Linked DNA regions of Homo sapiens: region 1 is linked to region 2. Evidence: promoter capture Hi-C in 16 types of primary human blood cells and fetal thymus (Javierre and others, 2016). All regions are on one chromosome and are shown on one strand. The core of a region is centred on a gene start or on the middle of the fragment in contact, and the rest is flanking DNA. Distances in the headings are between cores, read along the strand shown. Region 1 overlaps LIPE-AS1 (LIPE antisense RNA 1). Region 2 holds the start of CXCL17 (C-X-C motif chemokine ligand 17).

Region 1 (6,508 bases), core at 2,302-4,801, 100 kb before region 2:
CCCACATCTGAGCAGTCACCAGGGTCCTCTCTGCCCTGTCCTCATATCCAATGTCTCGATGACTCACTCAATGTCCTGGGTCACCCTTGTCATCTCTCCTGGACACAGCCACAGCTCCTGACAGGAAGAGTTGAGGTTCAGTCTCTCCAGGAATCCCTCCCACTCTGACCACTTGAACCTGCTCATTCTCATCTGACCCTCCCCTCACCAGGGGTCTTGTGCTCTCGATCCCTGGATACCTGGGTCCTTGTCAGGCAAACATCATAACAATAACAACCACCTGAACCCTGAAACTGTCACCCAAGGCACATGTCTGATGACAGTCACCAGGTGAGACACCTGTGGCTTCACATACCTGAGGCTTCACTGTAAAGAGGCTTCCTCATCCCTTTCCTTTCATCCCTAGGGTCAGTAAGCACCACAGGCTGCCTCGGACCACCAGCCCCTTCCCCCAGACACAGCATCAGATCTATACTGACCCTCTATATGGAGAGGCTTTGGGGAACAGCAGACACTAGGAAATCCCACTGACCCAGGTGTCACCCACAGCCCCACCCCTCCTCATATCAATGGCAGGGACAGACACGTAACACACCTCTGCTCACCGCCCAGCCCCCAAGATCAATCACAGTCTGCTTCTCCCTTCACCCACTACTCCCCACATCTTCCCTCCCCAGCTGCAGCCTGGATGGCCTCCCTGCTGTTCTTGGTCCATGAAGGCAGGTTCCAACCTCTGTATCATTCCCTTCTCTTCCCTCCCCTTCCCTCTCCTCCCCTCCCCTCCCCTCCCCTCTCCATCCCTTCCCAGGAGCCCACATCAGCCTGTCCACCTGCCTTACAGCCAAAGCCATCAGCCACTTGCTCCCTTCCACCCTCCCCAACCCTGTACATGGAGGTGACGGCCCCTCCTGGAACACCCACCACTCACTGTCAGCCTTCAGTGGTAATCACAGGTTCTACAGGGGTCACCTGTGGAACCAGAACTCTTGGAAGGACGAGCAGAGGGAGCTGCTCAGGACATCTTGGGGCTCCTGGCATCTGGTCCACCACATGGACATAATCAATAGCACTTAGTGAAAGGGTAAGTGGTGGATGACTAAGTGTAAGTGAAGACGGTGTGTGGGCAGAGGTAGGCACAAGAACACGGGCACTTTCTACTTCAATCATTATTCCAAGAAAGGTGGGGATACTGGAGATGGACATTTTCATATATTCCTGATGGGACTGCAGTACTTACAACAACAACTTTGGCCCATGATTTTTTAGGTCTTGTGGAGGTTTTTGAGATGGAGTCTCGCTCTGTTGCCTAGGCAGGAGTACAGTGGCATGATCATAGCTCACTGCAGCCTTCAACTCCTAGCTTCAAGCAACCTCCTGCCTTGGCCTCCCAAAGCTCTGGAATTGCAGGTTTGAACTCAGCCATCACACCCAGCCCTGGCCTCATTGTGTTCAGTGTGCATACGCTTTGACCACTATCCCACTTCTGAGAGTCCCACTGAGCGGTGAGCTCTGAGAAGGCAGGACTGTGCCTGCCCTGTCTCTGTTAAAGCCCTTGACCTGCCCACAGCCTGGCCAGGGTACTTTATAAGAGCTGAATGAATGAGTTCCTGGATTAATACTCCACGTGGGGAAAAGATATGTGTATGAGGATAGTCACTGCAGAATGTCTTGTCAACATGAAGAGTGGGACACAGCGTCAAATCCAATAGGCGAGTGGATAAAGCATCACAGTGTAGCCATGCAATAAAATAAATAAGGGGAAAGCAATGAAAAGGCAAAGAACATCAACAGATGCTTTTCAAAAGCTTGAACATATGGACCAACATGCATATGAAAAAATGCTCAACATCACTAATTATTAGAGAAATGCAAATCAAAACCACAGTAAGATACCGTTTCACACCAGAGTGGCTATTATTAAAAAGTCAAAAAATAACAGATGCTGCTGAAGTTGCAGAGAAAAAGGAATGTGCTGGGCACGGTGGCTTACACCTGTAATCCCAGCAATTTGGGAAGCCAAGGAGGGAGGACCACTTGAGGCCAGGAGTTCAAGAGCAGCCTGCCCAACAGGATGAAACCTCGACTCTACTAAGAATACAAAAATTAGCCAGGCGTGGTGGTGCACGCCTGTAGTCCCAGCTACTTAGGAGGCTGAGGCACAAGAATCACTTGAACCCAGGAGGTGGAGTTTGCAGAGAGCTGAGGCTGTGCCACTACACTCCAGCCTGGGCAACAAAGCAAGACTGTCTAAAAAAGAAAAAAGAGAGAGAGAAAATGGAACGTTTATACACTGTTGGTGAGAATGTAAATTAGTTTAGCGATTGTGAAAAGCAGTATGGCAATTCCTCAAAGAGCTAAAAACAAAAGTACCATTTGACCCTGCAACCCCATTACTGGGTATACACCCAGAGGAATATAAATCATTCTACCATAAGGACACATGCACACGAATGTTCATTGCAGCACCATTCACAATAGCAAAGACATGGAATCAACATAAATGTCCATCAATGGTAGACTGGATAAAGAAAATGTGGTACGTACACACCATGGAATACTACACAGCTACAAAAAAGAATGAGGTCATTTCCTTTGCAGAAACATGGATGGAGCTGGAGGCCATTATCCTTAGCAAACTAACAGAGGAACAGAAAACCAAATATCACATGTTCTCATTTTTGCATTTTTAGTAGAGACGGGGTTTCACCATACTGGGCAGGCTGGTCTCGAACTCCTGACCTCGTGATCCACCCCCCGCCCCCCCCCCAGCCTCCCAAAGTGCTGGGATTACAGGCGTAAGCCACCATGCCCAGCCGCATGTTCTCACTTTTAAGTGGGACCTAAATGATTGGAACCCATGGACACAAAGAGAAGAACAAACACTGGGGCCTACTTGAGGGTGGAGGGTGGGAGGAGGGAGAGGATCAGACAAAACACCTGTTGGGTACTAGGCTTAATACCTGGGTAACAAAATCATCTGTACACCAAACCCCTGTGACATGCAGTTTATGTATATAATAAACCTGTACATGTACCCCTGAACCTAAAATAAAACCTCTAAAACAGAAAAAGAAACACAATTGGAGCAAATCCACATGTGTTGAGAAAGGAAGTGTCCACCATACATGCTTCACTATAAAACAACATTACCAATTAATAATATAATTCATTAATGTTTGGCTGTATAAACAATGAGTGGGACAAATGAGAAAGTATTATTGAAAGATTCATACCAACTGCAAACAGTGGTTACATCCTGGAAATGGAATTGGAGTGGGGTGGGGTCAGGGATCTGACACATCATTTTACAAGCGCTTATATTGCTGGAATTTACAATAAGTGTGCTTTCTTATGTGACCGTTTTTTTTTTGTTTGTTTTTTGTTTTTTTTTGAGATGGAGTCTCCCTCTGTTGCCCAGGCTGGAGTGCAGTGGTGTGATCTCAGCTCACTGCAAGCTCCACCTCCGGAGTTCACGCCATTCTCCTGCCTCAGCCTCCTGAGTAGCTGGGACTACAGGCGCCTGCCACCATACCTGGCTAATTTTTTGTAATTTTAATAGAGATGGGGTTTCACCATGTTAACCAGGATGGTCTCAATCTCCTGACCTCATGATCCACCCGCCTCGGCCTCCCAAAGTGCTGGGATTACAGGCGTGAGCCACTATGCCCAGCCACCTATATGATTTTCAAAATAACAGATGAAACCATTTCAAAAGACTCAAGAGGTGTGTGACATCCTCGGGCCCCAGAGCCCAGGCCTCCTCCAGCCCCAACACTGTTGAGTCCCCTCTGAGATGGCCCTTTGAGGTCTCCTCATCCCACCACTCAGGTACAGAGACACCGAGACTCCCAGGAGGGGATCCTTGCTGCAGATCCCACAGCAGACAGGGATAAAGTGAGGTTCTGTCCAGCCTGACACACATACTGAGTGAGCACACACACTATAGGCTTGTCCTGGATAGTGGGACAGTCCCTGCTATACAAGCACCATTCAGTGGACACTGGGAGTGAACAGATGAGACCAAACCGCCCTGCAGGTCCTAAGACAAGGGCAGCACAGAGCCCTAGGGGACATGGGTCCCATCCAGCCCTGAGCCTCCCCCTCATCTCATGGCCTCTCCCTCTCCCTGCTCCTGACCCAGGAAGAGCCACATAATGTGGGGGATTCAGTGCAACCTGAAAATGCAGTATCCTTCTTCAAGACAGGATTAAGAGGGTTTCAACACAGCCACAGAAGGGCACTATATTAAGTGCAGGACCCTTCTAAGCACAGGCCCCCATGTGATAACACAGGTCACATGCCAAGAAGCTGGCCCCGTCCTACCCTCCTGCCTCAGGTCTAGATGCCCACATTTGGGAGTGACCTCAGGGACTAAGAAGACAAAAGTTAACACAGCTCAAGAAGAGACACGGCTCTACTGCTTCCTATGCCCCTTACTCTGTTCAACTCTTCTGCAGACCCTCAGGGCAGACAGCCCCTTAGATGATGTGACAGGGATGGGCCTGGCCTCCTCCCTGGCCAGGAGAACACTGCAGGCAAAGGCCTGTGGAGTGCTGAGGTGACCCAGCCCTGCACTGACTGTCCTGCAGGGGGAGGCTGTTGTCCATCTCTGCCCAGGGCTCTGCAGGTGGAGCACTAATTTGAACCCTGGTCAATGCCTGGTTCTGGACGCAACAGGTGAGTCTAAGCCCTGAGACCATCAAGATGCGGTTATTGTGCCTCTGTCCTGATGAAACCATCTGTGGCTCCCACCATCTGTGGGACACAACCCCCACCCCCCTGCAGGTGTCCCTTGATACTGCCTCATGCCATCCTACCTTGGGTGATAACTATTCCCTGAGTCCCCAGTATTCCCACTGGGCATATCCCAGAGGTCTGCATTCACAGACTTGATGCATGCCCATGACAATGGTCAGATTTTAAAAGGAATTATAAGAAACGTGCACTGAGGCCGGGCGCAGTGGCTCACGCCTATAATCCCAGAACTTTGGGAGGTGGAGACAGGTGGATCACCTGAGTTCGAGACCACCCTGGCTAACATGGTGAAACCCCATCTCTACTAAAAATACAAAAATTAGCTGGGTGTGGTGGCACCCACCTGTAATCCCAGCTACTCAGGAGGCTGAGGCAGGAAAATCGCTGGAACCCAGGAGGCGGAGGTTGCAGGAGCCGAGATAGAACCACTGCACTCCAGCCTGGGCGACAGAGCGAGACTCCGTCTCGAAAAAGAAACATGCACTGAAGTAAGAAAGTGGCAGGGCATCAGACTTTGAACATCTGAGTTTAGTGTAAGCTTGTTTTAAAACACCAGAGAGGCTGGGCGCGGTGGCTCACGCCTGTAATCCCAGCACTTTGGGTGGCCGAGGCGGGCGGATCACGAGGTCAGGAGATCGAGACCATGCTGGCTAACACGGTGAAACCCCGTCTCTACTAAAAATACAAAAAATTAGCCGGGTGAGGTGGCGGGCGCCTGTAGTCCCAGCTACTACTCGGGAGGCTGAGGCAGGAGAATGGCGTGAACCCCGGGGGGCGGAGCCTGCAGTGAGCCGAGATCGCGCCACTACACTGCAACCTGGGCGACAGCGAGACTCCGTCTCAAAAAAAAAAAAAACACACACACACACACCAGAGAAGAGCTAGAATCAAAGAACACTGCGAAAGAAAATATATGGAACATGACAGTGTTGAAATTTTGTCTAGACACATTAAAAACAAACGATGATTTTTTTTAAACAAACCAGTTTGGCATGACCTTTTCGTCTACAATTTCCTCACTGTCCACCAGAGGGCCCCAGCCTAGGGCCTTTCCAGGGGGCTGCTGACCTCCCCTCTGCGGGGCCCACAGGTCCCAGCGGAACTGTCTCTTTGAAAGTACATTTATTTCATGCATCTGCAGTTGTCTGGTCAGTCTCATGTCTAAATCATTGGATCTCTGCACAGAATGTCATGAGGGGTCCGCACATGAGTTTGAGGACTATTTGCCCAGGGTGGGTATTTTATATGGTGGGGTTTTTTTCACCAAATACTTATTTAAAACTGTAATAAAATATACATATCAAAAAATGTATCTTTTAACCATTTTAAACTGTACAATTAAATGGAATTTACTACAGAGCCCTGATGGAGGGCTCCTGTAGCCCCAGCTACTCAGGAGGCTGAGGAGGGAGGATTGCTTGAGGCCAGGAGTTGGAGTCTAGTCTGGGCAACATGGTGAGACCCTGTCTCTAAATACACAAGTGGAATTAACTATATTCACAATGTTAAACCACCATCATCACTAATTTTTCCAGAAAATTTTCATCACCCCAAACAGCCAGACAGTAGAATAGACGCCTACACCATTTGTCCCCTCACCCCCACACCACTGGAACACTACATTTTAATCTGCACAGAGAAAAGCACTGTCACAAGAACCAAAACCAGGGGAGCAATCACAGTACCTGGTTTTAACTTCATATCGCTGAAAGAGGCATTGGGCCAGGTGCAGTGGCTCATGCCTGTAATCCCA
Region 2 (5,967 bases), core at 71-2,570:
TGAGAGATGACTGCACCCATATCTCTAGGCTTTATGAAATGGATGTCATCTCCCTGGTTTTAGAATTTTCCAGAAAGAAGCCACATCAGTGATTTGCATCAGAACAAGCTTAGGCCCACCCTGAGCCTTCAACTTGGACACAGGCTCAGTCATAGCAGTCCCTGGCCCCTGCAGTGCTTTATAAACACTGCAGTAGCAAAGTCCACAATCAACTCTGTGACAAGTCAACAGGCCGAGATAATTTGAAAACGTGGAGAAAAAAGAATGGTCAAACAAAACCAAAGGGCTTTGACTCATGCCTTTCCTCTTTCCTTCTCTCAGGGAAATAAAGTCACACCCCCTGCTCTCACTCCTGCCTGGAGGCTTCCAAAAAAAGGGCTCCCTTGTTAGCCTTCCCTTCAGCCCCCATGAATATCACCCAGCATTCAAGCCCAGCCTCTCCTCTCCCTTTGAGCACATTTCCTAAAGTCTCAAATAAATGTCAAGTTTAGTGAGTGCTGATATTCTATGCCCCTAATGTTTACTTCAAGTATTATTACCTTTCTTCTTTTGCCCGGGGCCATTTCCAAACAAGGGCTGGAGCCAGGCGCCCCAGCAGCTGGGCAAACACACTTCAGGGCTCCTTCCCTCCTGTGGCTCCTGTTTCTCAAACCCTCTGAGACCTAAAGCTCTGGGGGTCTCTTCCCCCAACCCAGTTCCCTCCCCTTTAGACCAGAACAACTAAGCCATGGCCACCTTCCCGATGGACACACAAGGAGGCCTGGTGTCACCCACTGCTCCAGGGGCGGTGTTCTCGGCAGGGGAGCTGCCTCTTGTCCCGGATCCTGCTCTGCTGCCATCTTATGTGGCTGCAGAATTGGAGGGAATTGTGAACAGAGAGAGGACAGGGCAACTTCCCAGGCAACAACACTACTATTGCCGATATTTTGCCAAGGATGGGAGCAGGAGCACAGAGGGGAAACAGACCTTGTCAAAGTCTCTTCTACCAACACTTAGTATCCACTTTCCTGCCAAATATTCAGATAGAGAGGGTCATTGAAAGGTATAAGGAAATCCAAGCAAGAAAAAAAGATTTGAGGAAGAAATCATGAGGCATTGGGGTGTGAGGAGGCGGGAAAGAGTACAGGAGAGAACTGGCACAGCTGCCAAGTTATCAGTCACCTTCTTATGTTCTTAAGAATGCTGAATTTCTTTTGTTTGACCAGTTTCACCTCCCAGATTCCCATAAAGCACATGGTCTAATCTGTTACGTAACAGCAAGACAGCGTCACCTCACCTGTTCTCGCCCTCAAATGGGAACGCTGGCCTGGGACTAAAGCATAGACCACCAGGCTGAGTATCCTGACCTGAGTCATCCCCAGGGATCAGGAGCCTCCAGCAGGGAACCTTCCATTATATTCTTCAAGCAACTTACAGCTGCACCGACAGTTGCGATGAAAGTTCTAATCTCTTCCCTCCTCCTGTTGCTGCCACTAATGCTGATGTCCATGGTCTCTAGCAGCCTGAATCCAGGTAAACAAGACTGTCTATGAAGGGGAAAACGGGGGGAGAAATGTGGCAAAACAGGCCACAGACACATCAAAATGCAGCTTCTCTTAGCTATGGGGGATGGGGCAAGTGAGCCTTTCTCAATGCCAGTTTCCTCCTTTACAAAAAAACAGCAAACTGTACTTACACCCAAACAATGTTGAGAGAGTTAAACGAGATATTGTATGTGAAAATATCTGCAACTGGCCGGGCGCGGTGGCTCACTCCTGTAATCCCAGCACTTTGGGAGGCCAAGGCAGGGCGGATTACAAGGTCAGGAGATCGAGACCATCCTGGCTAACACGGTGAAACTCCATCTCTACTAAAAATACAAAAAATTAGCCAGACCTGGTGGCACGCACCTGTAGTCCCAGCTACTCAGGAGGCTGAGGCCAGAGAATTGCTGGAACCCAGGAGGTGGAGGCTGCAGTGAGCCGAGACGGCACCACTGTACTCCAGCCTGGGTGACAGAGTGAGACTCCATCTCAAAAAAAAAAAAAAAAAAAAAAGGAAAGAAAAGAAAAGAAGATATCTGCAATTGTAGCTGATCCCCCTCACACACACGTACGTATGTATGTATATACTAGCTCAACAAAGATTTGCTCCCATGCCTTCTCCCCCAACACTTTTCCAAAAGAGTAACATAATTCTCATGGCTAAACTTAATGATGATGGTGGGAGAGTGTTGAAGGCAATGGTACCTTTATAGAAGATCAGGAAGTCCTTGCTTCTATTCTTTACAGTGCACTGGAATGCCACCAACATGTCTTAATGCTATTTACTGGTAACGTAATAAACTAGAAAAAGCCTGTCACCAGGTAGTGTCCATATTTGAAGCTTTATCCATAGCAAGCCCTGCTGTAACAGCTCACATTTTGGGAAGCCGACTTTAGCTTAGGGGTTCCAAATCTGCTCCAGCTTTCACTATAAAGTGGCCCAGCCCTGCACAGAGCAACCACGCAGAAAAGACCTGATCCCCATGTATATTTCCGCTTGTGAGCACCATCTCCCCAAAGGCCACTTTGAGGTGAAATGGCTATGTTACATACTCAGCATCAACTTGGTCCTAAAATCAGGAGGCATTCTCCCTTCTCCACCCCAATTTCCAACATCCCCTCCTTTGTAGAGAGAGTGCTCTGGAAGCTGTTAAGCCCCATAGCCCTAGGGCCTAGACCACTGTTCTGAAAGGGAAGACTTTTCCATCACTATGACAGACACCCAGGCTAGAGTCCTCTGCCTGGATTCAAAGCTGTAGCCCCAACCTGCCTTTCTAGTGTACCTCCCTCTACTCACTAAAAATACTATTTCTCCAACCAAACTAACCTGTTTGCCCTTCCCTGAACAGGTATTGTGTTTTTCCACCAGTTCAACTTTGCTCACACACCCAGCTCAAAACCACCTTCCCACAGCTTCCTTCAGTTCCTCCCACAGCCAGACATGTGGTCTCCCTCCTGAGCGCTGGCTTAGCCCTGCTGGACACTCTCTTCTTGCACTTATCATCTGCTGCCTTATATTGAGGGCCTTCATGTGCCTTTCCTGCCCCCACCCCCTGTCCTTCTAGGCTGCAAACTACTTGGTGACACAGACTGGTGCACTGTTTCCATATCCCTCACGCTATCCAGCTCAGTACTCAGCAAACATTAGCTAACTGCAAGAATGCATCCTCAGGTTGCTAAATCAAACCAGGGCTTCATAGCAGCTCTACTGACATTTGGGCTGAACAGTTCCTTGCGGTGGGGGCTGTTCTGTGTATTGTGAGATGTTCAGCAGCATCCGCGTGGCCTCTCTCCCCTACATGCCAATAGCAGCCTCCCCTCTCCCTCATCCAAACCCCTGTTATGGCAGCCAAAAATATCTCTAGACATCGCCAAATGACCCCGGAGGGGGAACCACCCTTGGTCAACAACCACTGCTCTACACCAATACTTCTCTGCATGGCCACACTTTTAGACTCACCTAGACCTTTACACTCAGCTTGGAAGTCAGGGGGACCTAGATCCTGGCTCTGCCACACACTTTGCAACCCTAGACAAGTCGCCTCACTTTTTTGAGTTTCAGTTTTATCATCTTAAAATGAAGAAAATACCACTTGTCACACACACTTGTGAAGATTAAATGATCCGCAGCGTGTCCTAGAAAGGGTTTAATAAATGGACTGAGTAGTTTCTAAGTCGCTCCTAAAGCACGAGGGTGAGGAACTGGGGAAAGCTCCCTGCGCCACCAGGGGGCGCCATCACAAACCACGTCGAGTGGGTGGCGGCCGGGCTCAAATCTTGTTTCCCAGCCAAGCAAAGTTTTGCAGTGCAGGCCTGAGTCTGAGCTACTTAGTGGCTAAAGGAAATAATAGCTCCTCCATCCCCAAAATAAATCTCAGAATAAAGTCTAATCTTATTTTATCTCTTAATCACATACATGCTCAATATGCTTTTCACAGGGTTAAGGGAAATAGAAATAAGTGAGAATATATGAGGTCATTAGGAAATAAATTACTTAAAATAACAGATTATTCATTAATTATAATATTATTTAATTATAAAATTACTTATAATATCAGACACATTAAGAACTCCTATATCACAAGCATTGTTCTAATCACTTCACACTTACTATCTCATTTGTCCTCACAAATCTAATGCATTTCTTACTTTTTCTTACTTTTCATTTTTCAGACTTTGAAAAATATTGTAAAAATAGAGTTCCAGTACAGCCTTCATCCAATTGTTTTCAAACAATATCTTATGTAACCATAATACAATTATCAAAACCAGGAGATTAGCACTGATACCATAATATTAACTAATCTACAAATGTTCAAATCTTGCTAATCATCCCACTCATGTCCTTTTTCTGCTCCAGACTCCAATCTGGGATCCCACTGAATAAAATGTCAGATCTCCTAGGTCTCCTCCAACCTGGGATAGTTTCTCAGTCTTTCCCTCTCTTTCAGGACCTTGACACTTTTGAAGAGTTCTAGCCAGTTGTTTTGTAGAATGCCCCCTGAATATGGGTTTGTCTGATATTTCCGGCTACACATTTTGGGCAAGAATACTTCAGAAGTGATGTATCCTTCTCTGGACATCCCAGCAAGAGCCCCAGGATGTCGATATCTCTCATTACTGATGAGGTTCACTTTAAGCACTTGGTTCAGGTGGTGTCTGCCAGGTTTCTCTACTGTAAAGTTACTATTCATCTTATTGTAATTAATAAGTATCTTGTGGAGAGACACTTTGGAAATATGTAAATAGCCTGTTTCTTCTCATCATACTTTTTTTTTTCTTGTTATTCACCAGTTATGGCATCATCATACTTTTAATATTAACTTTTAGAATCTATGGATGATTGTTTCCTATAAAGAATTATTACTGTGGTGTTGGCCAAATAGTGATTTTCTACTTCCATTGTTCCTTCTACATTTATTTAATCGGAATTCTGCCATAAGAAAGAGTTATTCCTTTTTCTTTTTCTTTTTTTTTTTTTTTTTTTTTGAGATAGAGTCTTGCTCTGTTGCCTAGGCTGGAGTGCAGTGGTGTGATCTTGGCTCACTGCCGCCTCCACCTTCTGGGCTCAAGCGATCCTCCCACCTCAGCCTCCTGAGTAGCTGGGACTACAGGCAGACACCACCACACCCAGCTAATTTTTGTATTTTTAGTAGAGACGGGGTTTTGTCATGTTAGCCAGGCTGGTCTCTAATTCCTGGCCTCAAGTGATCCCCCCACTTTGGCCTCCCAAAGTGCTGGGATTACAGGCGTGAGCCACCATGCCTAGCCTCTTCCTTATTTATTTATTTGTTCAGTTATTTATTTATATCAGCATGGACTCATGAGTATTTATGGGTTGGAATCCACTACTATCATTATTTATTATGTTGCTCATATTGTCCCAAAATTGGCCATTGGGAGCTCCTTCTAGTTGGCTTCTGTGACCTTTAGACACATCTCCACCATTTTTTGAGCAGCTCCTTACTTTCTGACACCACAAGAAGCTTTGGGCTCCTCTTGTGTTTTTCTGCCCCAGCCCTGGATCAGCTATTTTTCCTGGAAGCCCTAGTTCCTTTCATGGGAGAATGATATTTACAGACTATGGGCACTGACTGATAGGTCCATTGCTAGTAGGTGCTGGTGCTTCTAGGCCCTCTAGTGGTCAGAGCTGGGAAATAACACACACGCACACTCATGTACAGTAGTCCCCACTTAATCGCAGTTTCAGTTACCCGCCAACAGTGGTCCAAAAATATTGTTATCTTGAGAAAGAGACAAAGAGAGAGAGAGACCACATTCACGTCATTTTCATTACAGTATATATGTGTGTGTGTGTGTGTGTGTGTGTGTATTTTATATATATATATATATATATATATTTTTTTTTTTTTTTTTTTTTTTTTTTTGAGACAGAGTCTCTTGTCGCCCAGGCTGGAGTGCAGTGGTGCAATCTCGGCTCACT

Evidence for each region. The method cuts DNA at HindIII sites, captures the fragments that hold promoters and counts their contacts. A CHiCAGO score of 5 or more calls a contact.
Region 1: a fragment that was not itself captured here is called in contact with the fragment with the promoter of CXCL17 in region 2 in 2 of 17 cell types (neutrophils and M1 macrophages); the score reaches 6.0 in neutrophils.

Annotation. Positions count from the first base shown.
Region 1 is chr19:42,541,120-42,547,627 of GRCh38, reverse strand. The region is part of intron 2 of LIPE-AS1 (LIPE antisense RNA 1); the gene reads right to left. Among named protein-coding and RNA genes, the nearest start is that of CEACAM1, 16 kb to the right of the region's middle. The HindIII fragment of the contact is 3,488 bases long and covers 1,808-5,295 here.
Region 2 is chr19:42,438,299-42,444,265 of GRCh38, reverse strand. CXCL17 (C-X-C motif chemokine ligand 17) reads left to right here and starts at 1,320. Exons shown (of 4, transcript NM_198477.3): 1 at 1,320-1,512. The coding sequence starts at 1,434. The region is part of intron 1 of LIPE-AS1 (LIPE antisense RNA 1); the gene reads right to left. RefSeq lists silencers at 3,802-3,891, 5,570-5,749. The HindIII fragment of the contact is 2,256 bases long and covers 111-2,366 here.